Regions from separate parts of the Homo sapiens genome. Here all the other regions are linked to region 6. The links are contacts of gene promoters, found by promoter capture Hi-C in blood cells and fetal thymus (Javierre and others, 2016). All regions are on one chromosome and are shown on one strand. Each heading gives the region's core, a stretch centred on a gene start or on the middle of the fragment in contact. The rest is flanking DNA. Distances are from core to core; before and after follow the strand shown. Region 1 has its middle 14 kb from the start of EXOC8. Region 2 has its middle 35 kb from the start of EXOC8. Region 3 overlaps EGLN1 (egl-9 family hypoxia inducible factor 1). Region 4 overlaps GNPAT (glyceronephosphate O-acyltransferase). Region 5 overlaps SPRTN (SprT-like N-terminal domain). Region 6 holds the start of DISC1 (DISC1 scaffold protein). Region 7 overlaps TRIM67 (tripartite motif containing 67).

Evidence for each region. The method cuts DNA at HindIII sites, captures the fragments that hold promoters and counts their contacts. A CHiCAGO score of 5 or more calls a contact.
Region 1: a contact is called between a fragment that was not itself captured here and the fragment with the promoter of DISC1 in region 6, in 2 of 17 cell types (neutrophils and non-activated CD4 T cells). The highest score is 10.6, in neutrophils.
Region 2: a contact is called between a fragment that was not itself captured here and the fragment with the promoter of DISC1 in region 6, in 1 of 17 cell types (activated CD4 T cells). The highest score is 5.3, in activated CD4 T cells.
Region 3: a fragment that was not itself captured here is called in contact with the fragment with the promoter of DISC1 in region 6 in 12 of 17 cell types (neutrophils, monocytes, total CD8 T cells and 9 more); the score reaches 8.8 in neutrophils.
Region 4: a fragment that was not itself captured here is called in contact with the fragment with the promoter of DISC1 in region 6 in 1 of 17 cell types (activated CD4 T cells); the score reaches 5.6 in activated CD4 T cells.
Region 5: a fragment that was not itself captured here is called in contact with the fragment with the promoter of DISC1 in region 6 in 8 of 17 cell types (total CD8 T cells, naive CD4 T cells, activated CD4 T cells and 5 more); the score reaches 7.8 in total CD8 T cells.
Region 7: a fragment that was not itself captured here is called in contact with the fragment with the promoter of DISC1 in region 6 in 1 of 17 cell types (neutrophils); the score reaches 5.6 in neutrophils.

The regions. Positions count from the first base shown.
Region 1 is chr1:231,321,851-231,325,868 of GRCh38, forward strand. No RefSeq gene overlaps it. Among named protein-coding and RNA genes, the nearest start is that of EXOC8, 14 kb to the right of the region's middle. The HindIII fragment of the contact is 9,707 bases long and covers 1-4,018 here.
Region 2 is chr1:231,301,170-231,305,517 of GRCh38, forward strand. No RefSeq gene overlaps it. Among named protein-coding and RNA genes, the nearest start is that of EXOC8, 35 kb to the right of the region's middle. The HindIII fragment of the contact is 575 bases long and covers 2,011-2,585 here.
Region 3 is chr1:231,360,049-231,364,216 of GRCh38, forward strand. It overlaps EGLN1 (egl-9 family hypoxia inducible factor 1), which reads right to left. Exons shown (of 5, transcript NM_022051.3): 5 at 3,708-4,168. LOC107985360 (a long non-coding RNA gene) reads left to right here. Exons shown (of 2, transcript XR_001738520.3): 1 at 1-1,339. Among named protein-coding and RNA genes, the nearest start is that of SPRTN, 24 kb to the left of the region's middle. The HindIII fragment of the contact is 1,495 bases long and covers 2,121-3,615 here.
Region 4 is chr1:231,273,832-231,277,651 of GRCh38, forward strand. It overlaps GNPAT (glyceronephosphate O-acyltransferase), which reads left to right. Exons shown (of 16, transcript NM_014236.4): 12 at 91-231; 13 at 1,390-1,489; 14 at 1,574-1,667; 15 at 2,304-2,365; 16 at 3,668-3,820. The coding sequence ends at 3,711. Among named protein-coding and RNA genes, the nearest start is that of GNPAT, 35 kb to the left of the region's middle. The HindIII fragment of the contact is 1,659 bases long and covers 422-2,080 here.
Region 5 is chr1:231,339,577-231,343,518 of GRCh38, forward strand. SPRTN (SprT-like N-terminal domain) reads left to right here. Exons shown (of 5, transcript NM_032018.7): 2 at 193-292. Among named protein-coding and RNA genes, the nearest start is that of SPRTN, 3.3 kb to the left of the region's middle. RefSeq lists an enhancer at 1-203 and a silencer at 1. The HindIII fragment of the contact is 3,543 bases long and covers 412-3,942 here.
Region 6 is chr1:231,624,511-231,628,526 of GRCh38, forward strand. DISC1 (DISC1 scaffold protein) reads left to right here and starts at 2,280. Exons shown (of 13, transcript NM_018662.3): 1 at 2,280-2,424. The coding sequence starts at 2,358. The region is part of intron 5 of TSNAX-DISC1 (TSNAX-DISC1 readthrough (NMD candidate)); the gene reads left to right. RefSeq lists silencers at 2,176-2,435, 2,766-2,825, 3,799-3,999. The HindIII fragment of the contact is 7,020 bases long and covers 1-4,016 here.
Region 7 is chr1:231,214,070-231,218,418 of GRCh38, forward strand. It overlaps TRIM67 (tripartite motif containing 67), which reads left to right. Exons shown (of 10, transcript NM_001004342.5): 10 at 1,306-4,349. The coding sequence ends at 1,371. Among named protein-coding and RNA genes, the nearest start is that of FSAF1, 25 kb to the right of the region's middle. RefSeq lists enhancers at 892-1,393, 1,307-1,416, 3,108-3,607 and a silencer at 2,517-2,576. The HindIII fragment of the contact is 2,684 bases long and covers 1,702-4,349 here.

The sequences.
Region 1 (4,018 bases), core at 156-2,655, 300 kb before region 6:
CCAGGATGGTCTCGGTCTCCTGACCTCGTGATCCGCCTGCCTCGGCCTCCCAAAGTGCTGGGATTACAGGTGTGAGCCACCGTGCCTGGCCATCCCCTGCTAACTTTTAATCTACTTTCTGTCTGTATGGATTTGCCTATTGTAGAAATTTCATATAAGTGGAATCACACAATATTTGTGCTTTTGTGTTTGGTTTACGTTTTGTTTTTTTTGTTGTTGTTTTTTTTTTTGAGATGGAGTCTCACTCTGCTGCCCAGGCTGGAGTGCAATGTTGCTCACCGCAACCTATGCCTCCCAGGTTCAAGTGATTCTGCTGCCTCGCCCTCCTGAGTAGCTGGGATTACAGGTGCCCACCATCATGCCCAGCTAATTTTTTTGTATTTTTAGTAGAGATGGAGTTTCGCTATGTTGGTCAGGCTGGTCTAGAACTCCTGACCTCAAGTGATCCTCCCACCTTGGCCTCCCAAAGTGCTGGGATTACAGGCGTGAGCCACTGCACCTGGCCTGGTTTACTTCTGTTAGCATTATGTTTTTAATGTTTATTCATGTTTTATTGTATGTCTTTTTATGTTTTTTATGAAACAAAACTACATTTTGTTTCTCCATTCATCTGTTAATGGACACAAGTTGTTTCTACCTTTTGGGTATTACAAATAATGGTGCATGAACACTGCTATATCTGTAGTTAAACATTAAAAAAAAAAATTGGCTAGAGTGGTGGTTCATGCCTGTAATCCCAGTACTTTGAGAGGCTGAGGTGGGCAGATCACTTGAGGTCAGGAGTTCAAGACCAACTTGGACAACATGGTGAAACCCCATCTCTACTAAAAATACAAAAATGTGCCAGGAATGGTGGCGCATGCCTGTAATCCCGGCTACTCAGGAGGCTGAGGCAGGAGAATTGCTTGAAGCCCTGAGGTGGAGGTTGCAGTGAGCCAAGATGGCGCCACTGCACTCCAGCCTGGGTGACGGAGTGAGACTTTGTTTCAAACAAACATTCTGTTAGTAATTCCCCTAGAGATTACAATGTGAACCTTGACTTATTAGAGTATAAATAAGTAGTTTACCTCTTCACAGGCAATGCAAGAACTTAAATCACTTGAATTTTATGTACTTCTCTCCTGACTTATATGTTTTTGTTTTTATTATTTTCTTTTTTAAATTTAATTTTATTTTTAAAGACAACATCTCATTTTGTCACCCAGGTTGGAGTGCAGTGGTGAGGTAGACCACCAGAGGCACTAGCAATCCCAAATTCCCTTGATGTCTCTCTAAAATAATAATTGGTTGCAGTTGGCCCCAGGGAACAGGTGTCTACCACTAGACACAAACACCTGAAACTGATCAGCAGCTTCCCGATAAGATCTCAGGGGTAGGGCAGGTTGGCTCAAGCATGCACCCGAAAAGGAAAAATGGCAGAGTTTAACTGGTATATGACCTTCTAGGGGCATCCCACTGGTAAGGGAAGAATGCCTCAAGGGAGCATGTATACAGCCCCAGTGAACACACTGCGCATGCTCACCTCCCCAGTGCTAGAGGCCACTGCACATGCAGGCAGCCCACTCCAAGGGAACAATCGGGAGAAGGGACGCAAGACCCAGGAAGCATGCCAATGAATAAAACCCCAAGTCAAAAGGTCAGACGGTGCTCTTGATCTCTCAAGTCGTGTCTTTGGCCCTTTTCCAAGCATACTTTACTTCCCTTCCTGCTCTAAAGCATTTTAATAAACGTTCACTCCTGCTCTAAAACTGGCCTCAGTCTCTCCTCCTGCCTTATGTCCCGCAGTCAACTTCTTTTTGTCTGAGGAGGCAAGAATTGAGGTTGCTGCAGACTCATATGGATTTGCCATGGGGAACAAGACCCCACAGGTTAAGGGTTTCAATCCCATAAGACTGCCCCCACTTCAGATGCAGGTCACAAGTCCTGGGGTGTCCCAAAGCCACGTACACTTTTGCCCATCAGGGTATAAATTTGGGGCTTCCCATGACACTCCCTCTCCCTCTCCAAGGTTTGATAATTTCCTAGAATGACTCAAAGAACACAGGAAAGTGCTATATTTATAGCTACAGCTTTTATTGTAAAAGATACAACTCAGGAACAATCAAGTGGAGCATGCATAGGGTAAGATCTGGAGGGGGTGGGGGAAACAGGAGACTGTCCCTGTGGAGTCCAGGTGTGCCATCCTCCCAGTACATCAATATGTTCACCAACCAGGAAGCGACCCAATCCTCGATGTACAGTTCTTATTGAGGTTTCATTACATTGGCATGCTTGATTAAATCATTAGGCAAGTGATAAAATTCAACCTACAGTTTCTCCATCTCTTCTGTGGTGGTGGGGGGAAGCGGGGCAGGAAATTAACATTCCACTTCCATGATTATATGGTCAATTTTCTGGTGACCAGCCCCAATCCTGAAGATATCTAGGGGCCCAAATAGGAGTCACCTTATTAGCATAACAAAAACATCATTCAGGAAATGCCAAGGTTTTTTGAAGTTCTATGCCAGAAACCAAGAAAAAAGACCAGATATATTTTTTATTCTACTGCAGCCTTCAGATATATTCTTTGCATATATAATGTGTAAAGTAGTTCTAATTGTTCTCAGGGAAGGATTGGTCAGAAATGCCTAGGCCACCATAACCAGAAGCAAAATTCTCTTGCTAATCAATAAATCATATTAAATGAAAAAAGAAACAGCAAGAGAAAGAAGAGAATAAGAGAATGAAACACTGGAACAATAAAAAAGTGAATGAAACTGTAGGTAAAAAGAAAATAAACCATGAAGTGAGAAATGATTCTTTTAAAAGGAGAGAAAATGACAGCGGTGGAACAGTACTCTTGAGGCAAAGGTAAAACATTCAACATTTTTCATGATTACAGTTCTGCACCTTGCAAACTTCACTTTCCGCCTCTTTGAGGTCCCATCTTCCTTCGCAACCTAGGTAAGCCATCCAGTGAAATGTTTTTTGGCGATGGCAATGTTCTAAATCTGTGCTGTGCAGTATGGTAGTCACTAGCCACAGGTGGCTACTGGGCACTTGAAATGGGACTAGTGTAACTGAGGAGCTGCATTTAAACTTTCCATTTAATTGATAATTAACTTAAAATTTTTAAAATTGCACGTGGCTTCCATGTTGACAGTGCAATCTTAGAGGTTTCATCTTGTGACACAAGTTAGGAGCTTCTGAAGAAAGAACAGAGCCTCCACCACACCCAAATTCCCATAGCACCTTTCCCAGCTTAACACCACATAGCAAGGGCTGGAACTCTAGAATTGCAGAAATGTGACTAACATTTCCTTTGATATAGCTCAGGGTCTCTGCCTAAGTGTTACAACTCACAATTATGAATGAAAACATGATTTCTTTTTTCCAAAAGAGAAGCCAGGGGAAAAAGTTTTATATAATAACTAGAACAGACATATACAGAACAGTAACACCATCACTATTTGGAGAGATGAAAATGTCCTATATAGTGACTGGGTGTTGTTACATGGAGTAGATCCCTTTTTCAAAATTGGAGAGCTAAGATGTGTTCATTTCAATGTGTGTAAAGTTTATGTTCCAAAAAAATTGCAAAAAATAACCCCAGTGGGGATGGGGTGGAGAGTTGTTAGGTATAGTTGAAATAATAATGACAAAATACTGAGAATTGTTGAAGCTCGGTAATGGGTATATAGGGATTTATTATATCATTATGTTCCTTTTTATATGTTGAAATTTTTCCAAATAAAAAATCTTTAAAAATATGTATTCTCCAAATTAACACATACATATAGAAAAAAAGTGGCAGAAAGACACATTACAAAATGGAAAGAGTAAGTCTTATTTTTAAGACACCACGTGTATTTATTATTTCATGTTTTTAAAGGGTGATATATTCAAGCATTTTCTAAATGAAAATTCACATTTTTCCATCCCTCTCCCCATCTACTCAGTTCTACCTGCTGATACCTGTTCAGAATTTGTATGTAAGTATAAACAAATATTACTTACAATCTTATTTTCTCCTTTTCTA
Region 2 (4,348 bases), core at 1,048-3,547, 320 kb before region 6:
CTGGCTTTAATTCGCTGGCCTCAGTCTGCTGTCAAGACCTACCTGGTCTTGCCCATGGCACCTTACTACCCTTTCTTTACTCCCTGGCCTTACCTACTTCATTTTCTCACCCTTGCCAGAACCCATTAGCTTTCCACACCTGGCCTAAACCTATGGGCCTTAACCTTATAGTCTCAGCAACCTGGATTACCTACCTAGTTTTCCTACCTAGTCTTACTCATCATGGGTTTCATGCTTAGTTTACACAGCTGTCCTTAACCTTCTAGTTTTATTTACCAGGGCTTAGTCCCCAGTCTTATTTTTCTAATTTACCTCCCTAGGTTTCCTCCCCTGGACTTATTTCCCTGCCCTTATTACCAAGATTTCCCCCCCCACCTGGACTTAACACACCTTACATTTCCCACTTGGACTTCCCCATCTGGCCTTAACCTCATGGCCTCAATAGCTTACCAACCTGGCCTTCTCACCTGGTCTTAGCCTTTCATTCTTAGTCACATGGCCTCAACCTCCTAGCCTAATCTGCCTAGCATTAACTTCTCAGCCTTACCCAGTTGGAGTTATCCACCTAGCTGTACTTGATGGCCTTAATTTTACTGGCTTTACCCATCTGGCTTTTTCAATCGCTTGGCTTCCTGACCCAGTGTTAACATCATGGTTTTGCCAAAATAAATTTACCCACCTGCATTATTAACCTCCTGACCTTACTCATTCAGCATTAATCTGCTGGCCTTATGCACCTGGTTTACCCACCTGGCCTTACCCTACTGGCCTTAACTTCATGTCCTTACCAACCCGAATCACCCAACTGATTTTATCTACCCAGCCTTACCCATTTGGCCTTCACAATTAGTCCCAACTTCTGGTCTTGCTCACATCTCACAGCCCTACTGGCCTTAACCTGGTGGCATTATGCCTAGTCCTGACCCATGACCTTACTTTCCCGGACCTCACCTATTGACCTTCCCATGTGGCCTTATTTATCTGGCCTTACCCACTAGGCCTTCCCCACCTGACCTTATTAACTTTAGGGCCATACTCACCTGCTCTCTTCACCCACTTGGCCTCAGCCATCATGACTTAATCTGTTGGCCTCATACCCTTCTGGTGTTGACTACCTGGTTTTATTCAGTTGGCCTTCACCTCCTCGCCTTCCCACACTGTCTTACACAACTAGCATTAGCCTTGGGTCATCGTTTGTCTGGCTAGGAGAATTGCCCTTAATCCTACTGGGTGTTTCCCCCATCGATTTCCCGGCCTGAGAAAAGTCTTTTTATTTGGCTGGTTTTAAACACCTGGTTTTAACAACCTGACTGCACTCGGCAGAACTTATTAAGCTCCTTGGCTTCATCATTTTATCTTATCCTCGTGGTATTACAAACCTGGCATTATCTGTCTTTATTAACCTCCTGGCCATACTCACCAAGTCTTAATTTCCTGGCCAAAAAGTCCTTCCCTTACCCGCTTGGCCATAACTTCCCGCTCACCATTATTCACCTGTTCTTACCCACCTGGATTTAATTTCCTGGCCTCAATCTCTGGTCAAGACCCATCCCGCCTGATCTTGCCCATGAGGCCATACTCAGCTGCCTAACTTACTCCCTGGCTTTATCCACCACATTTTACATCCCTGGTCAGATCCCATTAGCCTTCCCCACCTGGCCTAACCCTATGGGCCTTAACCTCATGGCCCTAAAAACTTGGATTAGCCACGTAGTTTTCCCACCTCGTCTTACCAACCATACATGACCCACATGGGCTCCACACTTGGTTAACACAACTGTCCTTAGCCTTCTGGTTTTACCTACCAGGACTTAACCCCCTGGATTTACCTCCCTAGGTTTACTTTCCTGGTCTTATCCCCCTGCTTTTACTCCCTAGATTTACCCCCAACTGCATGACCTCATCCCCACATTTTGACACCTTGCATTACCCACCTGGCCTTAATTTCATGGCCTTACCAACCTGGATGACCAACATAGCTTACCAACCTGGCCTTCCTGCCTTGTTTTAAGCTTTTGTTTTTACTCTCATGGCCTTAACCTCCTGGCCTAATCTGCCTAGCTTTAACCTCTTAGCATTATCCAGGTGGAGTTAGCCACCTAGCTCTATTCAGGGAGGCCTTAACTTACTGGCTTTAGCCACCCAGCCTTTTCAATTGTTTAGCTTCCTAACCATCTTAACCTCATGGTTTTGCTAACTGAGATTTACCCACCTCCCTTATGAACCTCCTGGCCTTACTCATCCAGTATGAATCTCCTGGCCTTATGTACCTAGCATACTCACCTGACCTTACCCTACTGGCATTAATGTCCTGTCCTTACCAATCTGAATCACCCAACTGATCTTACCTCCTCAGCCTTACCCACTTACCTAAGCCTTACCTTACCCATTAATTTGCCTTAACAATTAGTCTCAATGTTCGATTCTTCCTTCCTCAATTGCCCCAGCCCTACTGGTCTTAACCTGGTGTCATATCCTCTGTCCCAAACCTTGGCTTTCCTTTCCTGGCCTTCACCTGGTGGCATTCCCACATGGCCTTATTTACCTGGCCTTACCCACTAGGCCTTCCCCACCTGACCTTATTAAGCTTAGGGCCATACTCATCTGCCCTCTTCACCTGCTTGGCCTCAGCCAGCATGGGTTAATCTGCTGGCCTTATACCCTTCTAGTATTGACCAACTGGTTTTATTCAGCTGGTCTTCACCTCCTCACTTTCCCCACACTGTCTTACCTACCTAGCATTAGCCTTGGGTCATCATTTGTCTGATTTGGCGACTTGCCCTTAATCCTACAGGGTGTTTCTTCCGTTGATTTCCGAGCGTGGGTCTTTTATTCAGCGGGATTTAAACACTTGTGTTTTTTTGTTTTTTGTTGTTTTTTGTTTTGAGATGGAGTTTCGCTCTTGTTGCCCAGGCTGGAGTGCAATGGGGCAATCTCGGCTCACCACAACCTCTGCCTCCCCACAACCTCCGCCTCCCGGGTTCAAACGATTCTCCTGCATCAGCCTCCCAAGTAGCTGGGATTTACGCATGTGCCATCATGCCTGGCTAATTTTGTATCTTTAGTAGAGATGGGGTTTCTTCATGTTGGTCAGGCTGGTCTCAAACTCCCGACCTCAGGTGATCCACCTGCCTCGGCCTCCCGAAGTGCTGCGATTATAGGTGTGAGCCACCACGCCTGGCTTAAACACCTGGTTTTAACAACCTGACTGCACTCAGCAGAACTTATTAAGCTCTTTGGCTTCATCACTCATCTTATCCTCATGCTATTACAAACCTGGCATTATCTATCTGGCTTTATTAACCTCCTGGCCATACTCACCGAGTCTTAATTTCATGGCCTAAAAGTTCTGCCCCTACACACCTGGCCAGAACTTCCCGCTCGCCATTATCCACCTGTTCTTACCCATCTAGCTTCAATTTGCTGGCCTTGATCTCTGGTCAAGACCCACGTGATCTTGCCCATGAGGCCTTACTCCACTGCCGTTACTCCCTGTCCTTGCCCACCTTGTTTTACAGCCCTGGCCATGCTCCATTAGCCTTTCTCACCTGGCCTAAACCTATGGGCCTTAACCTCATGGCCCTAACAACCTGGATTAGCCACCCAGCTTTCCCATCTAGTCTCAACAACCATACATGACCCACATGGCCTTCACACTTGGTTTACACAACTGTCCTTAGCCTTCTGGTTTTATCTACCAGGACTTAAACCACTGGATTTACCTCCCTAGGTTTACTTCCCTGGACTTATCCCCCCTTGCCCTTATTCCCCAGATTTACCACTGCTCCCTCACCCCATCCCCCAGACTTAGACACCCCCCATTAGCCACCTGGACTTACCCACCTGGCCTTAACTTTATGGCCTTACCCACCTAGATGACCGATATAGCTTACTAACCTGGCATTCCCACCTGGCCTTAACCTTTTGTTCTAACTCACATGGCTTTAACCTCCTGAACTAACCTGCCTAGCTTTAACCTCTTACTATTACCCAGGTGGAGCTATCTACCTACCCATATTTAGGGAGGCCTTAACTTACTGGCATTACCCACCCAGGCTTTTCAATCACTTGGCTTCCTGACCCAGTCTTAACCTTATGGTTTTGCCAACTTATATTTAACCACCTGCCTTATAAACCTCCTGGCCTTTTGCATTCAGTATGAATTCCCTGGCCTTATGCACCTGCCTTACCCACCTGTCCATACCCCACTGGTGTTAAGATCGTGTCTTAACCAACCAGTAGTACCCAACTGATCTTACCTTCAAAACCTTCCAGTTGCCATTCATAATTCATCTCACTCTCTGGTCTTTTCTGTTCTAGTGCTACTGGCCTCAAGCTGGTATCATTA
Region 3 (4,168 bases), core at 1,618-4,117, 260 kb before region 6:
GGCTCAATCCTGTAATCCTAGCAACTTTGGGAGACTGAGGGGGACAGGATCGTTTAAGCCCAGGAGTTCAAGACCAGCCTGGGCAACATAGGGAGACCTCGTCTCTACACAAAGTAAAAAAAATTACCCAGGCATGGTGACAGGTGCCTGTAGTCCCAGCTACTCGGGAGGCTGAGGTGGGAAGATCGCCTGAGCCTGGGAAGTCGAGGCTGCAGTGAGTCCCGATCATGCCACTGCACTCCAGCCTGGGTGGCAGAGCAAGACCTTGTCTCAAAAAAAAAAAAAAAAAAAAAAGACAAAGTTGGATTTTTTTTCTGTCTCATAGATATGCTGCAGGCACAGATTATGGTGACTGCTGTCTTTTGTCTTTATGGTTTTTGGAAGACTACGATAGAGCTTTAGATTTAGGAAGCAGCCAATATTCCTTGGAAAACCAGAAACTCAAGTACCTTCCTCTTAAATGTAAACACACAAGCAAGAGGTACCAGACATTTAAGGAAAACTTCTAGCATGAAAGAAAAAAAATTGAAACAGAAAAAAGTTAAATACTGTATCAATTAAGAGATTATTACATATATTTTCTTAAATTCGAGAACAAAAAAGAGCTCCTGAAATTTAGGAACCTGACAACAGACACCATATACTCACCAGAAGAATGGGAAAACAGATGTCCCCAGTCAAGACAGATACACAGTAACTAGAGAAGAAAATAGGTTCAAACCAGTAGAGGTCCTGCCTGGACAAAGGAGTGCCAGAAAGAGAGAACAGAGAATGGATGGAGAAAATTTAAATGTCCCAAAATGGTGGGGTGATTTTACAGTCTGCATTCCTAGCACAGAGGTTGACAAGTGGCACACATTAAAGCACACTATAAAACTATGGCGCCCTGGGGATAAGAATATTCTATGAGCTTCCACAAAGAAAAAGATTACATATAAAGAATCAGAAATAAGAATGGCTTCAGATTTCTCAGTATCTACACACTGGAACCTAGAACCAGTGAGGCAATGCTTTCAAAATTCTGGAACATGATTTCCAAAGTTACCAATGAAATGTGGTGGTAAAACAAAGATATTGGTCTCAGAAAATTTACCATCCATACATTTCTACAGGAAGTATTAGAGGGCATGCTCCATTCAGTAAACCAAGAAAGATGAAGACATGGGATCCAGGAAACAGGAGAGCTGACCGAAGAGTGGTGAAGGAAATCTCTAGAACACAGGTGAAGGGAGACCCAAGAAAGACAGCTGTGCCCCAGGCGTTAAGAGCAACCAGTCCAGATTGGTGCAAGTTAGAAGCCACAGGGAACAAACGAAAAATCAAGACATTAAGGGAAAAAGTAAGTTGTGGAAGAAAAGTCAAGTCAACATGATTTCCTGTATGTCTCAGCTTTGACTAGCACAGCCATAACAGGAACACGAACCTGATCTCGGTTACAGCATAGGAACAGAAGGAAGACCAGGGGAGATGGATGTCTGCTTGCCTATGTGTGGTAGAGATGGTGGAGGAACCTTGGAGAGAGATCTGCCGTGTGGAGAAGTTAGGAGAAAATGCCTAACACTGAAAAAAATCAAGAGGCAGCAATCCAATTATATTATTTAAACTAATGGGTGGGGAGATATCCAAAGAATCATTTAAAACAGTTGACACTTGTTTTCTCAGGGGAAGAATGTGAGGGACTACTTTTTTTTTTTTAATTAAGAATTTTTAAAGGCAATACTTTTTTTTTTTTTTTTTTTTTGAGACAGAGTCTCATTCTGTTGCCCAGGCTGGAGTGCAATGGCAAAGACTCACCGCAACCTCTGCCTCCCAGGTTCAAGTGATTCTCCTGCCTCAGCCTCCTGAGTAGCTGGGACTACAGGTGTGTGTCACCACACCCAGCTAATTTTTGTATTTTTGGTAGAGACTGTGTTTCACCATGTTGGCCAGGCTGGTCTCGAACTCCTGCCTCAAGTGATCTGCCCGCCTTGGCCTCCCAAAGTGCTGGGATTACAGGCTGAGCACCGTGACCAGCTGGGACTACTGTTTTTCTTAACAACCACAGACAAGTTGATTTAGCCACTCGAACAAAACTAAACAAGGAAAGCTCACACTCAATTCCTGGCTCTCTACCACTTACAAGCTTTGTGACTGTGAGCAAGTCACTTCTCTGATCCTGTTTTAATTACAAATGGAGACAAAATTTGCTTTGCCTACACTTTGCATGTACTAGGGAAAAAAAATGTAAAGGTATTTTGTAGAAGACATTTGGAATAATTTTGGCAGAAAACATCCTAATCTCAATGAAGGCCCTATCTAGTAACTTTCTGACCCCAATGACATCTTGTTCAGAGCAAAAATTATCAATAATTTTTGACAACTGTTTAGTAATTATTCAATAAAAAGAGCTTTAGCTACTTGCAGCTGTTTAGGCTCTCCCCATCTTGTGAAGTGGCTGACATTTAGTGTGTTCTACTTATGAAACTATTTCCAGCTCATGAGGCCATGCCCTTCACACATCTCATTGGTCCCATTGGTCCCATGGTACATACTTGAGCATCGCCATGGTTCAGATAAAATTCAAACCAAAAACATAATCTGAGGGATAAATTCATGACCTGAGAAGTCTAAACAATTATCTTTTGAAGCAATGGAGACTAGTTACTTCTGAATATTTATAAACTAATTGAAAAAATCCAACATACAATTATGTTATTAGATATGACATAAATATGTATCATTGCAGTTCATACCCAAATACAGCTCTCTTTCTTGGATCACATGCACTTTTGCACTTTGGGAAAATAATCTGATGAAGTGCCTTGCACCAGTGACTTAATTTAAATCTAAGCTATAAAATAAGACCTGTCATTAATAAGACAACACTCCTGCTTCCAAATGATTCACATTTACAACTGATAAAACCGTTAGCTATTCAAAGCTCATTGCCCCAATTTTCTCTCTCTGCAATTATGCTATCATATTGTTAAAGGAAAGGGCAATAATCCTCGTTGAAGGCCTACTTTGTTCCATGCATTGTAAGGTACTTTGCACACTGTATTTCATTTAGGTCTCATACAACTGTTTAAGGTGGAAGATGTGCTTTTTGTATATAAAAAAGCACATCTCAAACTTCATCTCAAACTCATTTGCCCTTTACTTCAATCCACCCAGCTATATTTTAGTGTAATTCCCAAATGTTCTAAGAAACGCTGGAAAATAACAAAACACTGTGGAAAATTTTTCTTTAAATAACAGATATATAAACAGGTATTTTGATCTCACCTTAATAAGAGCTCTCATATTTTAGTTATGACCACACAAATTAAACCTTCTTGCATATACACAATGGTACATCTATGACAATTAGAGATAAATGCCTAACCCCACTTCCTTTTGCAGCAGAGGGGTGATACAGATCTGTCAACAGCTATGAATGTTAAAATAATTTTAAAAATCCTACTAAAAGGGCAAGAATTCAAGTGCTGAGAATCCAAACAGACTTCATGGATCCCACAGACAGTCCAATGACCCCAGGGATGTTTCTAAAATTGTTGAACTCCTATGTTTACTGTTCTCTTTCCTTCATTATCATTTACAAAAAGTTATAACAAATGTCCTAGACTAAGCCAGAAAAGCTTTATCTGATGAAAGGGATCATTCGGAAAGCCAATGTATGATAAAGGATTGAAAAACAAAAAAGACAGCTGGAAATAACCACCATAATGTTTCAACAACATTTATACATCTTTTTAATTAGATTAGCTTTACAAGCAACTTGAGAGCTCTTTCATAATGAAACACTGCTTTTCAAATTACATGACTTTATAGTCTATCTGTATATGAATCCTGAAAATCTTTGCCTACTCTTGATAAAGGTCTGTGTTTTACAGCTGGTTAATGTGTTGAATAAAAACAGCATTATGAAGCTTTATCTTTAACCAGGATTAAACACATATAGGCCACAAACAGTTTTAAATTTTGTTTGAAATAGAGTCCTGCTTGGTGACAAGTTAATAGTCCCACTAACATGAAATGAATGGATATTAAATAAATGGCCATCCTGATTTCTTGATCTTTTCACAATGATTCCTAAGAGAGTATATAAACTTTTCCAAAAAATATACAATTTAAGACCTGTCTGGCAAGCACAACCCACAGATAGTAGAATCTAATACTTTTTACAACT
Region 4 (3,820 bases), core at 1-2,500, 350 kb before region 6:
CCATTAACCTAGATGAGGGGGTACATGTATTCAGATGGGCACTATACCCATTAACCTAGATGAACATTATGGCTTCCTCTTCCCTTCTAGGACTTTGAAGAAGGCTGTTACCTGCTTTGTAAAAGTGAAGCCATACAAGTGACTACGAAAGACATCCTAGTTACAGAGAAAGGAAATACTGTGTTAGAATTTTTAGTAGGACTCTTTAAACCTTTTGTGGAAAGCTATCAGGTATGTAAATTTGGCAAGTTCTCCTTCATGCCCCCCATATCAAATATAATAAGACATTCTCACCCTGTGCTTATTTCCAGTCTGAAGGGCAGGTATCTTCCCCAGGCAAATGGAAGAAGGAGAGAGAGTGACTAATACGATCAGTGATTTCACCTCACCAGTGAGACCTTGCTCCCCGCATTCAGGAGGAAGCTTGGTTCATTACAGACCCAAGAGGACAACAGCTTAGTGATGCCATGGTCACAGTATTCACAGGACCACAGTTACACCCACGCATCATCTGTCATACTGTGTCTCATGTCTTAATGAGGCCTTCATGTCAGTCAATATGTAACCTCGAGGTTTGATATATATCAGGCACTCAGTAAAGGCAAGACTTGAGTGATACATAAAGTCAGTTACAGATTACCAGATGTTTATGTTGGAAAGAAAAAGTTCAAGTGCAAGTTCTGAAAGCGTTTGTCAGAGCTCTTGGGAGTAGTTAGAGAGATGGGATGGTATGTTGCCCAGCAGGAATTGTGGCAGGACTCAACGGGAGAGAAAGAGTCTGAAACATAAACTGTAGGAAGGACTTCCACATGCTTGAGAGAAGAGGATGCTGTGACTCGGCTCTGTTCATATAATACATGCACTGGCTCTGGGCACCTGGACCCACTTCCTGGTGCTTGTGGTCCGTGAAATAACTCATTCAGCCTCCTTGCACAAAGTCTAGCACTTACTGAGCATTTGATAAATGCTAGTTCTACCCTTAATCACTGTTCTACAGTAGAAATCATCAAGTATTTTAGGGCATGGTACTTTCTTAGGTGTATTTAGAGAAAAAAAGCAAAGTTATTAAAATCTGACCCCTCTCTTCCCAAGTAGCATAAGAGATACGAAGCTGATGGTAATTAACTTGTACCCCTTGAAGTGAGAAATTATACTTTAATAAATGTCATTATTATTTTAAATCTTTTTCTAATTGTAAAATGTAAACTCAAAGGAGATGCCCTAAAAATTCTTTGGTTTTTCTGGGCTCATTCCTTGGAGGGTCTTTATGCTGCTCTCTTGTGATATATCCTTCTCTTAAGAGGGGCAATGTAAAGTTATTTACTATTCTGTTGAACTTGGCTATCCTTTTTCTCTTTCTGTTCCCCTCATCCTTCCTCTTAAAATCAGATAATTTGCAAGTACCTTTTGAGTGAAGAAGAGGACCACTTCAGTGAGGAACAGTACTTGGCTGCAGTCAGAAAATTCACAAGTCAGCTTCTCGATCAAGGTCAGTCACTGCTCTGTGGGTGCTGATTTCTTTTAGTTGAGAATAGAAACTGGTCAACTAACTCTTCCTCACCCCCAATTTTAGGTACCTCTCAATGTTATGATGTATTATCTTCTGATGTGCAGAAAAACGCCTTAGCAGCCTGTGTGAGGCTCGGAGTAGTGGAGAAGAAGAAGATGTAAGTACTGTACAAGATCCCATGAGTGCTCAAGGAACAAGGAAATGAATGACATTTGAGCTCAAAATCCAGAGAGACATAGAAATGGATGATCTAGGAAATGCTATATTCTACTTTCCTTATCCATCCTCTAATTAGTTAAGTCAGTGTGAGTTATCCTGAAAATTGTATGTGGTTATGAATAGAAATGCAACTGAAGCAAAGAAAGGAAGAAATAACTTTAGGCCAATATTTTTGCTTTGACTTAATGTTGAAATTTATAATTACAAGAAAGATTTTCGGGAGTGTAGTGGGCATATGAGTGTAGACACACATAAATACACACATAATACATATATAGATACATACCTGTATATGTATATATAAACATATAGATGTATGTTCTTCTAAGTGGTTGAATTTAACAGTGATAAAGCTTAATAGTAAACTCTGGCAGTCATGTCTCTTATGTGGTCAGAAGAATGAAGCAAGAAGCCAGGAGGTGGGACAGGAGCCTGAGGCCTTTCGACTACTTAGGCCCAGCCTTGAGGAAGGCAATTGAAAAGTAGTCTTACAATAGCTACGTCAGGAACAAAATATAAAAGTTGTCTTTTCCCCAGAGTTTATGTAATAATAAAGCTTATTATTTTCTCCTAGAAATAATAACTGTATATTTAATGTGAATGAACCTGCCACAACCAAATTAGAAGAAATGCTTGGTAAGTGCAGTTTAATAAAATACAAGTTTTCACATTTTGTTGATGAATTAAAATAAGAAAGTATACTGTGGCACCAAATACTTTATCAAAATGATCAGTAAGTAGTAGAGTTCTAACATAAAAGGGAATTACTTATGCAGTCTGGAATTTTCTCAAGGAAGCTAACGAGAAAGCACAAAGAAAATTAACAAAACACAGCAGGCATAAAAGAAGCAGTCTTACACAGTAGAAAGAGTCAGTCCCTAACATGACTGGTCTCAGCCAGAGGCCCAGACCCTTCACATCCTTGCCTCAGAGAGAGTACCTCATCTCCACTCTTTGTTTGATGCTCTCACTGTCTGTCTTGCATTGCTTCTTTCCCAAGTGAGAGATTAGTGTCAGTGTCTCTATCATGTAGACTTTCTGAACTCAGAATTAGGGCTGATAGCACATCCTTGGGAGAATAATCCAACCCTTACTCTTCTCTAGAGCCTATCAGCTATGAAGAAATAGTCTAGTCCAAAAAGAGTCCTTGAGTGTTGTCTTCCTTGACATAAGAGTCCTTGAGTGTTGACATAAACAGAGGTACAATCAGAGGGGGTCAAGAACACTTTTCCTAGCAATGATGCGGCCATTTTAGAAAGGAGGGTGTTAACATTTGGAAAAAATAATCTGCTGATTATATTGAATGGCGTGATGTCCTTGAGTGGATCGTCTTCCAAGTACTGTTTTTGTACCTAATCTTAATTCAGTACCTCGTCAAACCTGCATGGAAGAGCTTTAGATAAATGTCTGTTGGGATTTGCGGAAGACCAGAATGGGGCATACGGAAAAGGAGAATGGATGAAGAAAAGGGTAGAAGGGCAGTGGGGTAGTTGTTGCATATCGGGAAGGCGGAAGTACTAGACCTTGTAGAAAAAAATATGTAGGTCGAAATCCCAGTCTTCTATTTATATCGTGTCTGAAGAGGTGCATATACCTAAAACAACCACAAACACCTCGCCCTGTGAGGGTGACGGAATCAATTACTTAATCACGGAAAGCAGATGTGATGTGAGCGTGAACATACTGGACTGGAGTTCAGAAAACATGACGGGGTTCAACTCCTGGCCCTGGCCCTGTGGCTCTGGCCATGCTGTCACCTCTTGGAGCATCTACCGCTTCCCTTGTGGAGGGGGCTGGCGTCCCCATGGGTACTGGCCAGCCTGTGAAGCTCTGCACAAGTCTCCAGCTTCTCCCCTGGACAGTCGCCCAAGGAACAGCTGTATGAGGAAGGGCAAAATCAGCATCATTTCATGAGCTGCTTCTCTTTTTTCATCTTAGGTTGTAAGACACCAATAGGAAAACCAGCCACTGCAAAACTTTAATAATCAACAAATAGTTATGGAAAATTCGGTCACGTAATTACTCTCATCGAAGGACTCATTACAACAAACAGGGAAGTAAAGGAAGAGACACATCCTCTCATACTCCCTG
Region 5 (3,942 bases), core at 933-3,432, 290 kb before region 6:
GAGCCATCGCGGGAGGCGCCCGCGGGGGTTGTAACTAATTAATTAGGTGAAATGCAAGTATCTGCTAACCAAGGGGGGTATACTTTCATGAAAGCCATCTGCCAACTGAGTTAGTGTGAACTGCCCAAGAATGTGTAAGGACTTGGGCATATTTGGCCAATGTAACACATTTTTATGGTGATTGTTTTCTAGGTGTGCTGGGATATGCAGCTATGAAGGGAAGGGTGGAATGTGTTCCATCCGTCTCAGCGAACCCCTTTTGAAGTTGAGGCCAAGAAAGGATCTTGTAGAGGTATTTTTCGTGTAAACTTGCTTCCTAGCGCAGTAATTTACAAATACTTGTCAATGATTTAGACTGCTGTGAATTCGCCTGTATGTATCGTTAAAAAAAGTCACTTTGCCCTCAGTGAAAGCTTGAATTATGGGGCAAACAATAATGAACACCTTATGTTTTTTATAGTGCTTCATAGTAAAAAAAAAAAAAACAAAAAAAAGGCTTCTAGGGGCCGGGCACGCTGGCTCACGCCTGTAATCCCGACACTTTGGGAGGCCGAGGCGGGCGGATCACGAGGTCAGAAGATCAAAAACATCCTAGCCAACACGGTGAAACCCCGTCTCTACAAAAAAAAAAATACAGAAAATTAGCCGGGCGTGGTGGCCGGCGCCTGTAGTCCCAGCTACTCGGGAGGCTGAGGCAGGAGAATGGCATGAACTGAGGAGGCGGAGCTTGCAATGAGCCGAGATCGCGCCACTGCACTCCAGCCTGGGTGACAGAGCAAGACTCTGTCTCAAAAAAATAAAAGCCTTCTAGGTATATTATCTGTTTTGATTTTACAACAGCCCTGTTTATGTTCATGTGTTGCTGTTTTCATTTTTATGAGTAAAGAAATTAAGGTTCAGAGAGGTTAAGTAACTGGCTTAAGTTACTTATTTAGAAACAGAGAAAACAGGATCCACATGTTCCTGTTGAGAAACACAAATTTTGATTCTCCTCAGTTGGGCTGCAACACTGCTGTGCTCTCAGGACACCTAGCTGAGCTGGCAGCACAAACCAGTGTGAGGGCACGCTTCACATTTAGAGCTGGTACTTACTTCTGCTAGCAGAATGGAGCAGTGGGAGCTGAGGCAGGAGGATCTCTTGAACCCGGGAGGCGGAGGTTGCAGTGAGCCGAGACCGTACCATTGCATTCCAGCCTGGGCAACAAGAGCGAAACTCTGTCTCAAAAAAAAAAAGAAAGAATTATCTGTACAAAAGAGCACAGTGGTAGTTTCTGAGCATGGGGTGGGAAGCATGTTAAAACATGCTTGGAGATGAGAGATGCTGTTTTTAAGGATAATAAAAGGCAATGGATTACATAACAGTGTGAATATACTCAACACTGAACTGTACACATAAAAATGGGTAAGTTGGGGAATTTTGTTAATTTTTTTTACCACAGTTTGTTTAAAAAGTAGCTACTAAATGTAAAGTGGTACAGTAGAAATACTTGATTAATGAAAAAGAACAGAGCTCAGATGATAAAGAGAAAGGTAGGTGTAAACAAAATATCAGTTAAATGTAAGTGGACTAAACACTCCATTAAATACATGGAATGGCATGCTAGATTAAAAGAGACATGCTTACAGTAAAGACACACTTATTTTAAGTTTAAAAGGATGAGGAAAAGTAATCATCCAAACACTTAAAAGCAGAAAACTATTGTGGCTATAAGGTTGAGTACTCATTATCCAAAGTGGGACCAGAAGTGTTTCAGATTTTTTTTTTTTTTACTTTGGAATATTTGCATTATACTTACTGGTTGAGCTTCCCTAATCCAAAAGTCCCAAATCTGAAATGGCTTTAGTGAGCATTTCCTTAGAACTTAACCTTTAATCATCTTGTAAGTGCTCAAAAAGTTTTAGATTTTGGAGCATTTCAGATTTTGGATTGTCAAATTAGGGATGTTCAACCAGTATTAGTATCAGACTAAAGACTTCAAGGGAAGAAGTTTTACTAGAGGAAAAGTGGGATATTTTATAATAATAAAATAATCTATTAAGCAACAATACATAATCTCTCCAAAAGTAATAACATAACTTTAAATTTTATGAGGCATAAATTAGCAGAAGCAAAAAGAATATACAATCAGGCTGGGTGCGGTGGCTCACGCCCATAATCCCAGCACTTTGGGAAGCTGAGACAGGCGGATCACTTGAGGCCAGGAGTTTGAGACCAGCCTGACCAACATGGTGAAACCCCGTCTCTACTAAAAATACAAAAATTAGCTGCGTGTGGTGACACAGCCTGTAGTACCAGCTACTCAGGAGGCTGACGCACAAGAATCGCATGAACTCGGGAGGTGGAGGTTACAGTGAGCCGAGATCACACCACAGCACTACAGCCTGGGGTGACAGAGCAAGACCCTGTCTCACTACAGCCTCAACCTCCCAGGCCCAAGCAATCCTCCCGCCTCAGCCTCCCAAAGTGCTGGGATTACAGGTGTCAGCCAAGACACCCAGACTCATACTTGAAGAATGTTAACACAACCTTCTTAGTAACCCAATGAATAAGCGGAAAAAAATAATACACATTTTAAAAAGTTGAACAGCATGATTAACCAAATCAGCCTTAGAAGGAGCCCTAACTGGAAGAGTTGCTTAATGAATATGTATTGGGTAAATGATTACATAAACACATGAGAAAAAAATGTTTTTAAGTAGTGGGTGAGAAGAGAATGGGGAATGTATAATAGTATCAAGTGAGCATTTCCTGTTGGCAGAAAGTTACAAAATGACATTTTCGTCAATGACAGGCCCCATATATAACAGTGGTCCCATAAGATTATAAGACCATATTTTTATTTATTTATTTATTTTTATTTTTTGTTTTTTGAGATGGAGTTTTGCTCTTGTTGCCCAGGCTGGAGTGCAATGATATGATCTCGGCTCACTGCAGCCTCCGCCTCCCTGGTTCAAGGGATCCTCCTACCTCAGCCTCCCAAGTAGCTGCGATTAAAGGTGTGCGCCACCACGCCTGGCTGATTTTTGTATTTTTAGTAGAGGCGGGGTTTCACCATGTTGGCTGGTCTCAAACTCCTGACCCCAGGTGATCCTTCTGCCTCAGCCTCCCAAAGTGAATGGGATTACAGGTATGAGCCACCATGCCCGGCCAGGACTATATTTATTTATTTTTTTTTTGAGATGGAGTCTCGCTCTGTTGCCCAGGCTGGAGTACAGTGGCGCATCTCCACTCACTGCAAGCTCCGCCTCCCGGGTTCAGGCCATTCTCCTGCGTCAGCCTCCCACATAGCTGGGACTACAGGCACCCGCCACCATGCCAGGCCAATTTTTTGTATTTTTTTTACTAGAGACGGGGTTTCATCATGTTAGCCAGGATGGTCTCAATCTCCTGACCTCGTGATCCGCCCGACTCAGCCTCCCAAAGTGCTGGGATTACAGGCGTGAGCCACCACACCTGGCCAAGACTATATTTTTATTGTACCTTTTTTCTTCTTTATATTTAGTTGCACAAATACTTACCATTATGTTGCACTTGCCTACAGCATTCAGTACAGTAACATCCTGTGCAGGTTCGTTGCCTAGGAGCGGCAGGCTATACTCTATAGCCTAGGTATATATACTCTATAGCCTAGGTATATACACTCTATAGCCTAGGTATATATACTCTATAGCCTAGGTATATATACCCTATAGCCTAGGTATATATACTCTATAGCCTAGGTATATATACTCTATAGCCTAGGTGTGTGTATATATATATATATATTACATAGGCTATACCATTTAGGTTTGTGTAAGTACACTCTTAAGATGTTTGCACAATGACAAAATTGCCTAACAATGGATTTTTCAGAACATATCCCTGCCAAGTGAGGCACAACTGTAGTTACCTAAATCATAGAGAAGGGGGTTCAGAAAAGGAACAGACTTTATCTGGTTGAG
Region 6 (4,016 bases), core at 1,030-3,529:
CCATTCAGGACATAGGCATGGGCAAAGATTTCACGACAAAGATGCCAAAAGCAAAAATTGACAACTGGGATCTAATTAAACTAAAGAGCTTCTGAACAGCAAAAGAAACTATCAACAGAGTAAACAGACAACCTACAGAATGGGAAAACAATTTTGCAAACTGTGATCTAACAAAGATCTAATATCCAGCATCTTATAAGGAACTTATATTTACAAGAAAAAACCAAACAACCCCATTAAAAAGTGAGCAAGGGACATGAACAGACACTTTTCAAAAGAAGACATATATGTGGACAACATTCATATAAAAAAAGCTCAACATCACTGATTATCAGATAAATGCAAATCAAAACCACAATGAAATACCACCTAACACCGGTCAGAATGGGTATTACTAAAAAGTCAAAAAATAACAGATGCTGGAGAAGTTGTGGAGAAAAAGGAACACTTTTACACTGTTGGTGGGAGTGTAAATTAGTTCAGCTATTGTGGAAGACAGTGTGGTGATTCCTCAAAGACCCAAAGACAGAAATATTGTTTGACCCAACAATCGTATGACTGGGTATACACCCAAAGGAATATAAATAATTCTATTATAAAGACACATGCACACACATGTTCACTGCAGCACTATTCACAACGGCAAATATATGGAATCAATCTAAATGCCCATCAATGATAGGCTGGATAAAAAAATATGGTACATATATACCATAGAATACTATGCAGCCATAAAAAAGAATGAGATCATGTCTTTTGCAGGGACATGGATGGAGCTGGAGGCCATTATTCTTAGCAAACTAACACAAGAACAGAAAACCAAACACTGCATGTTCTCACTTATAAGTGGGAGATAAATGATGAGAACACATGGACGCATAGAGGGGAACAGCACACACTGGTGCCTTTTGGAGGGCGGAGGGTAGGAGAAGGGCGAGGATCAAGAAAAACAACTAATGAGCACTAGGCTTAATACCTGGGTGACAAAATACTCTGTACAACAAACACCCATGACACAAGTTTACCTATGTAACAAACTGAACTTAAAAGTTAAAAAAAAAAAAGAGGTTCTTATTATGTTGCCCAGGCTGATCTCAAACTTCTGGACTCAAGTGAACTTCCACCTTGGCCTCCCAAAGTGCCTGGCCTTAGATATTCATACATTTATTTATTTTTAGAGATGTGGTGGGGGTGTGGGGGGTCTCTCTCTGTCACCTGGGCTGGAGTGCAGTGGCCCCATCATAGCTCACTGAAGCCTTGAACTCCTGGACTCAAGCAATCCTCCCACCTAAGCCTGCCGAGTAGCTGGGACTACAGGAGTGCACTACCATGCCGGGCAAACACACTGATTTTAAGTACAACTGTGTGCTTTCAGTCTTAAGATCTTCAGCTTTTGAAGGACCTCAGCCTTCCTCTAGTTCTAACTCCTCTCGTTCTAAGGAGATCCTTCCCATTCCTGCAGAACGTCTCCCCAACCCTTCTTCTTCACAGTTCTCCCTCCTATCCCTGAACCATTGCAAGAGGTTTTGTGCCAAGCCTCTGGCACATGGCACATTCTATCTCATGTTGTGATTTCGTTTTCTATGCACGTGCTCTCCTTCTAGCCTGGAGGTGAGCTGCTTAAGGGCAAAGAGCTCATGTGTAGCCCTTCCTTGTACCCATTGTCCTATAGCAGGTGCTACCTAGGGGGTGCTCCAGTAGCTTCCTTGAATGAACCAAAGAGAAGGGGTGAAGGGGGGAGTCAGTTGCCTAGGAGCTTGCATGGACTTCTGTGTCCTGGAACCAGCCCGGAGCTGCTGGAAGATGCTAGAAGTTGGAATCCTATCTCATTTCTAAACATCTGCTCCCACTCATCTCTTTCCAGGGTCATCAGTTATCCCCACTCCTCCCCCCCGCCCCCACTTTGTATAAATGAGCCCCTCACATCCCTCCATCTTCTCCATCACTGTGTGGTCACTTCTTAAATCATGCGTCTGGAAGGCGCCCTCCTGTACCCCATCCTGGAGGCTTCCTGCACTTCCCCTCTTGTTTCTTCCAGAAATGAGTCAGAGTGAAAGCAAACTTTCTGAGGTCCTGAGATCCCGGAGACAGGCTGTGAGGGCCGCTGGCCCCGCCCGCTCCAGCAGCGTGTGTGTGTATGTCTGTGTGTGTGTGTGTGCGCGCGCGCGCGCGCGTCAGGGGCCAATGCTGGAAAGGAAACAGCGGACTCGCTGAGGAGAAGAAAGGAGCCGCCCCCTTCGTCGCCAGCCCCCTCCCCACTTCCCGTCCAGCGCGCTGCTCCCTTCCCCCCGCCTCTGGCCTCGGGGAAGGAGCAGGAGGCAGCCCAGGCGGAGCGGGAGGAGCTGGCAGCGGGGCGCATGCCAGGCGGGGGTCCTCAGGGCGCCCCAGCCGCCGCCGGCGGCGGCGGCGTGAGCCACCGCGCAGGTAGGGGAGCTGCCACAGAGTCCTAGCACGTCCTGGGGGGGTCCTGGCAAGGAGGGCGCGCTCTGGCCCCCAGGAAGTCGCGTAGGTCAGGGCGTGCCTCTGTTAACAACCCCTTTCGAGGTGAGGGAAACTGAGGCAGGACGCGAGGCGTGCGAGGTTGAGAGAAGAGCGAGTCTTGGGCTGCCAGCCCGGCACCAGCGCCGAGCCGGGCCAGGTCCCTGACCCAGGACTGTGCAGCGATCCCCGGGACCCGCAGTTTGCGAAACTGTAGGAGTCTGACCCGCGCCCCCGCTGCGTGTCCAGGTGACCGGGAAAGGTTGCAGAGGCGTGCTTGGGGTTTGGATCCGTCCCCGTCCTGGGACACCTGCGCCGCCTGCACTCTCGTTGCGGTGCGCCCCAGCCTGCGCCCCCTCGGGACAGGGGACGTCCCGCCCGCCTTAACCCCAAGACCCAGCTGGATCTCGGGTTCCACCCCTTCGGGGACCTGGAGGGAGGAGGCTGGGAGCGGGACCAGGAACTGGTGCCTGTGCCTTCCCTAGGGGCTGCTCTGAAATCAGTGTCACCGCCCACTTCCTACTTGGCTACAGTAACGGGGATGGCCCAAGCCGGAGACTGCTCGGTTTCCACCGCCTGGAGCGCGGGTCTCGCTGTCAACTCTTAGTGATGATTGTGGATGGTTGTTTTTCAACAATGACAGGACTTCTACCTTCTCACTCTTAAAATGTGAGGTTTTCCAAAGACAGTGAGATTTGGAGTTAGGGAGTGCTGCCTTGTGTTCTTGCTGGGTGAGGACAGGGCTGGGTCAGTCGCTTAACCTCTCAGAGCCTCAGTCTCCTGAAATGTAAAGGAGAACACTCATAGCCTGGCCTCCATGTGTCGTTAGGTTTGTTGTATGGGAAATCAATTTGCAAAGTGTTATCATCAACTGGACAAATTTGAATTGGACAGCACTAGGACCATAGGAACTGGGGTTTGGAGACAGTCTGCCTGCATGTCAATCCTGGACATGCAGGAGACTATGACAGTACCTGCTTCATAGGGTTGTTATGCGGTTTAACTGTGATGGTGGAAGTGAAGCACCTCGCCCAATGCCTGAAATACCCAGTGCACTCTCAAAAAACCTTAGTTGCTATTTTTCCTAGGCAAAATCTAAATAATTGGGAGTAATGTGAGAATACCAGTTTGATTTGATTAATGCAGGAATAGTAGGGCATTTAAAAACACATGTAGTTCTCCTGTGCTCGGCATGGTACATGAAGTCCTCTGAGGTTCAGTTCTGTGCCACAGAGCAAAAAGAACCGTGGACAAGATACCCGCTTTTCGGGCTCTTTGACTTTGAGCCTGTTTTCTCATCTGTTTACAAAAAAGATAAAAGAAAAATGGGGGTAGTAATTACTGCCTTTTGTACTGATCGCATTGCCTGAGGATTAAATGAGGCAAAAGATCTGAAAGCACCTTGTGGAGTATGAGTCACTATGCACATATAAGACATGATAGTACTAGGAGGGAATGGTAACATCTGCAGGTTTTTAGAACTTACAATGTGCCAGACATTTTATTATGAATTCCTTTGATGAAATCCTCCCTGCATC
Region 7 (4,349 bases), core at 1,794-4,293, 410 kb before region 6:
GAAGCTGACCACAGAGCCTTCCCAGACAGAGCTTATCAACTGGCCTGCCTTGGACATTTCCTGGAGGCGTTCCGTTCTAACCTGTTCACTTGGGACACCCAGGGGCCCTAAGGTGGCAGCTTCTGGAGACGCAGACCTCAGGACTGAGCTCAGTCCCTGGGGAGTGCTGGTAGCTCAGGAGGCCTGAAACAGAGAGAGACAAGAATGAGAGCCCAGGAGGGTGTGAGGAAGGGAGAAACACGGAGGTGCCATCCTTCGTCTTAGTAGAGTCCTCCTCCCCTTGGGATGGGGAGTTGGAGTGTGGGGAGCAAGGTCCTGTTTTGTGGCCCTGAATATTGAGGAGTCTACATCAATCACTGATTGATCGATTCGATCCTCTACTCATTTGCAAAAGGGATTTGTGGCAACCTAAAAGATAGGCTTATGGCCGGGCGCGGTGGCTTACGCCTGTAATCCCAGCACTTTGGGAGGCCAAGGCAGGCGGATCACGAGGTCAGGAGATCGAGACCATCCTGGCTAACACGGTGAAACCCTGTCTCTACTAAAAATACAAAAAAAAAATAGCTGGGCATGGTAGCGGGTGCCTGTAGTCCCAGCTACTCAGGAGGCTGAGGTAGGAGAATGGCATGAACCCGGGAGGCGGAGCTTCCAGTGAGCCGAGATCGCACCACTGCACTCCAGCCTGGGTGATAGAGCGAGACTTCATCTCAAAAAAAAAAAAAAAAAAAAAAAAGATAGGCTTAGGCTTGGCCTGACATGGTGGCTCACGCCTGTAACTCCAGTACTTTGGGAGGCCATGGCAGGAGAATCGCTTGAGCCCAGAAGTTTGAGACCAGCCTGGGGAATGAACAAGACACCATCTCTACCAATGAACAGATAAGCTTTTTTTAATCCAAAAAATAAGAGGTTGGCTATAATTCCTCACAGTTAATAGAATGGGTTTAATAGGAAAGGAAAGAAGGTCATGGCTAGAAAGTAGACACAAATATGTAACCACGGGAGCCAGTGCGTGAGAGCCGTGCTCCTGTGATGGCGTCTACTTTGCCCAGCTGTGGCAGCTCTGGCAAAATGAGGAACCAGTCAGCTGGGTGATTCTTATTATGAGGAAAGAGGTGCAAACCAACATAGCCTTTAATTAGGAATACTGGGGGACGTAATATTCAACAGTCCACAGCAGCCCTGAGCTATTGCATGGATGGCCCTGGAGCCAGCAGGGGATCCTGCCGGTGTCTGCGGTGCTGTCAGAGCCCTCAGGGTCCCTGCGGCAGCCTCTCCCACCCTCACTTGCCCTGTCTTCTTTTCCAGGTCACCCTGCACACAGGATTGGAAGTGCCGACTAACCTGGGGCGGCCAAAGCTGTCAGGCAATTAGCCCCGCTCCAGCTCGGCACTGTGCCTGTGACAGTGACATTCACAGGCAAAACGCCCACCATTCTCACTAAGCTCAAATAACCCACAAAAGCAGGATATGCAAATCATGGGTGCAACCTGGCAGCGTGGAGTGTCATAGAAACACATTTTCTTGGGGACGCAGGGAATGGGTCCACGGGCCATGCTCACAGCTGCCACTGTCAGTGGCAAAGGAAGGTACGTGTGTCACCCTTATTCCACCCAGACATTACGAACACTCCCCAAGAAGGACCTTTCTCAAGGGAGTCAGCATTCGGGCTTCATGTCTATGTTTCCTGCCATCTGTTTTCAAAGCTTGTCTTTTTTTGGAGGGAGAGGAAGGTAGACTTTGAGACTGGCCTCCTGAGAGCGGCAGTCAGGAGCTGCGCTGTAATCCCACGCCCCGGGTGTTGGCCCTCCGTGGGGACCTTGCCTCCTCAGAGTCCCGAGATTGCAGATTCTCATCATGCTGAGAAAGTTATCTTTTAGCTTCTTGGTCCTAGAGTCTTTAGTAGCACCTGCCACTTGCAGACCCAATGCAGGATTGATAGAAAGGGACATTAATCATTCATGCTTGACTTTTGCCTCTCTCACTGAAGTGTTAGAACCTTTTAAAATGGCTTCCTTTATTAATCAGCCAATTGTGTTCTCTCTCTCTCTTCCTCCATCCTTCATTTCTTCTCCCTCCCTCCTTCTCTTTCTCTCTTCTTCTCTCTCTCCTTCCTTCCCTCCTTTGCTCTCTCTTTCTTCCTTTCCTCCTTCTCTCTTACTTTCCTCCATCCCTGCCTCTTTCTTCCCTCTTTCGCTCTCTTTCCCTCCCTCCTTCTCTCTCTCTCTCACACACACACAGGCATGACAGTCTCCTAAAATTAATTCACTCAGTTCTTAGTTCTTAAATCCACGTGAAAACACAAGAATTTTAACAACTATGTCATAGGTCTTCGCCTGGTGATGGCTCCTTTCTGAAACTGGCAGCCCAAGAAGTTAACTGAAAATGCATCCAGATTGCTCTTCTGAGCTGAACCACTCTCAGACTCATAAGCATTTAAAATGGGAGACCCTGGGAAAGCCTGTTCTAGTCAGTCCACCCTATTGTCATTATGAAAGCATCATGAACACAAGTGGCCCCTGTGGCAGGCCGGGACGGCTCTGCCCTGATGCAGTGGGCGGGATCTCTGGGGAAGGCAGGAAATAGAAGGGCAGTATCAGGTACCTTGTCTCCCAGCTTCCCACTGTGAGACTGGGTGTGCCGAGTCTGACCTGCCAGGGCAGGACTCTGGAAACACCAGGCTTCTCCCTTGAGATCCACATTGATTCATCCACACCTCTCAGAGACAGCTCATGGCAGGGGTTTTGAGCCTGCCAGGCTCTTGTTCCCAGGGAACCCTTCCTCTCCTCCCTCCTCTCATCTTCCCAGTCACCTGCCACCTCCAGCTCCACCTGGTAGTAACATTTCTCTCTCCTTTTAAAAAGAATATATTTTGTCAAGCATTTTATTTCTGAGGCTGAGAAGTGACTTGTCAATTTGCTGGACTGGATTTTTATAAAATTCGCCCATTCACCAGCACCAACTGTGCGTCCTTGGTTCTGCCTTCCTGTTCAGACACCGCGCCTGCTTTCTGAGTAACTGCCTGCCGGAGCCATGCAGGTACCCCCCCTCCACTCAGCAGGCCCGACAATCCTACCTCAAAGCTCATGCTCTTGGTCTGCAAGGCTGCTTGGTCCGCTGTCTCTGCAGATGTGGCCGGCAAGGCCAGCTGCCCCGTCTCCAGGAGCTGCTCGGTGCTGTGTTGCAGTCTCTGCTGCGGAGCCTGGGAGCTATCTGCTTCATGGAAGTCTAGGTCTTGCCTCTTCCTTGTCATCTCACCAAGCGGTTTCTGGGTCTCCTCCTCCCATCCCAGAGCCCTGTCCAGAGCTCTTGGTGGTGACACACAAGACCTGGGACCCTGTGTCCTTGCCCGCACCTCTGCCTCTGTCTCCCATATCCCTGCAGCTTCATCCTTAGCCATAGCTCTGGGTGGCCTTTGCTTGGAGCATGGAGACGATCCCTAAAGATTGAGGATGAAGAGGAGCCACCACTTTCCTGGGGCCAAGGAAGCCATCAGCTTTGGGAAGTGTCTAGCTCTCTTCTGAAAAAAAAACAGGCCTACACCCTGCCCCCAGAATGAGAGTGGGCTAGGCAGGGCTGCCTGGTGACAGCAGCTTCTCACAGGGGAGCCCTGGGGAAGGCTGTGGAGCCTCCACCATCACCACAGCCCAGGTCACCAGGTGGCCCCAGCTCTGCAGAAGAATCGCCCATCATTGGAGCACAAGTTGCCTGGGGCTACCCTGAACCTAACCCCTTTGAGGGAGCAGCATCCAGGTCAGGAGAGAAGTGGAAAGTGCAGGAGGGTAATGCCCTCAAATCCGGTGGCCTCTTTCAGAAAAAAGTTCCCTGAAGTCCAGAGAGGTGCAGCCAGGACTCCCTCCTCCCCACTGCCACCCTGAGCTTGGGGGCTGGGATTCTCCCTTTTCTGACTCCTCCAGGAGCCCAGAAGCAATACGGCCGATGCCAGGGACAGCATCCAGCTCTCCTTCACAGACACCTCTCCTGTCTTCAGCACAAAACACCTTCAATGTTCTGACTTCAAAGAGAACGACAGGTCCGTGCCACACACTTGTGTTTTTGAGGGATCAGAAAAGTGAAGAAGGAACTTATCAATTCCTCATGGCCAGGAAGGTCCCGGGTTTCAGAGTAGAAATGACAGACAGGTCATGGAATTCTCATCCACCATCGAATTCCATAACACGTTACATCATGGTGGCACATTTGTACATACATATAAATGATATCAAGATGAGGCTTTTGTTGGGCTGGCTGAGGAGTAACTTGGTGTAAATCTATCAAGCAGTTTCAGTGAAAAAGGAATTCAAAGTAGTTTAAAAATGTCGAGTTCCATTGCATTGTAAATAGTGCCTCTG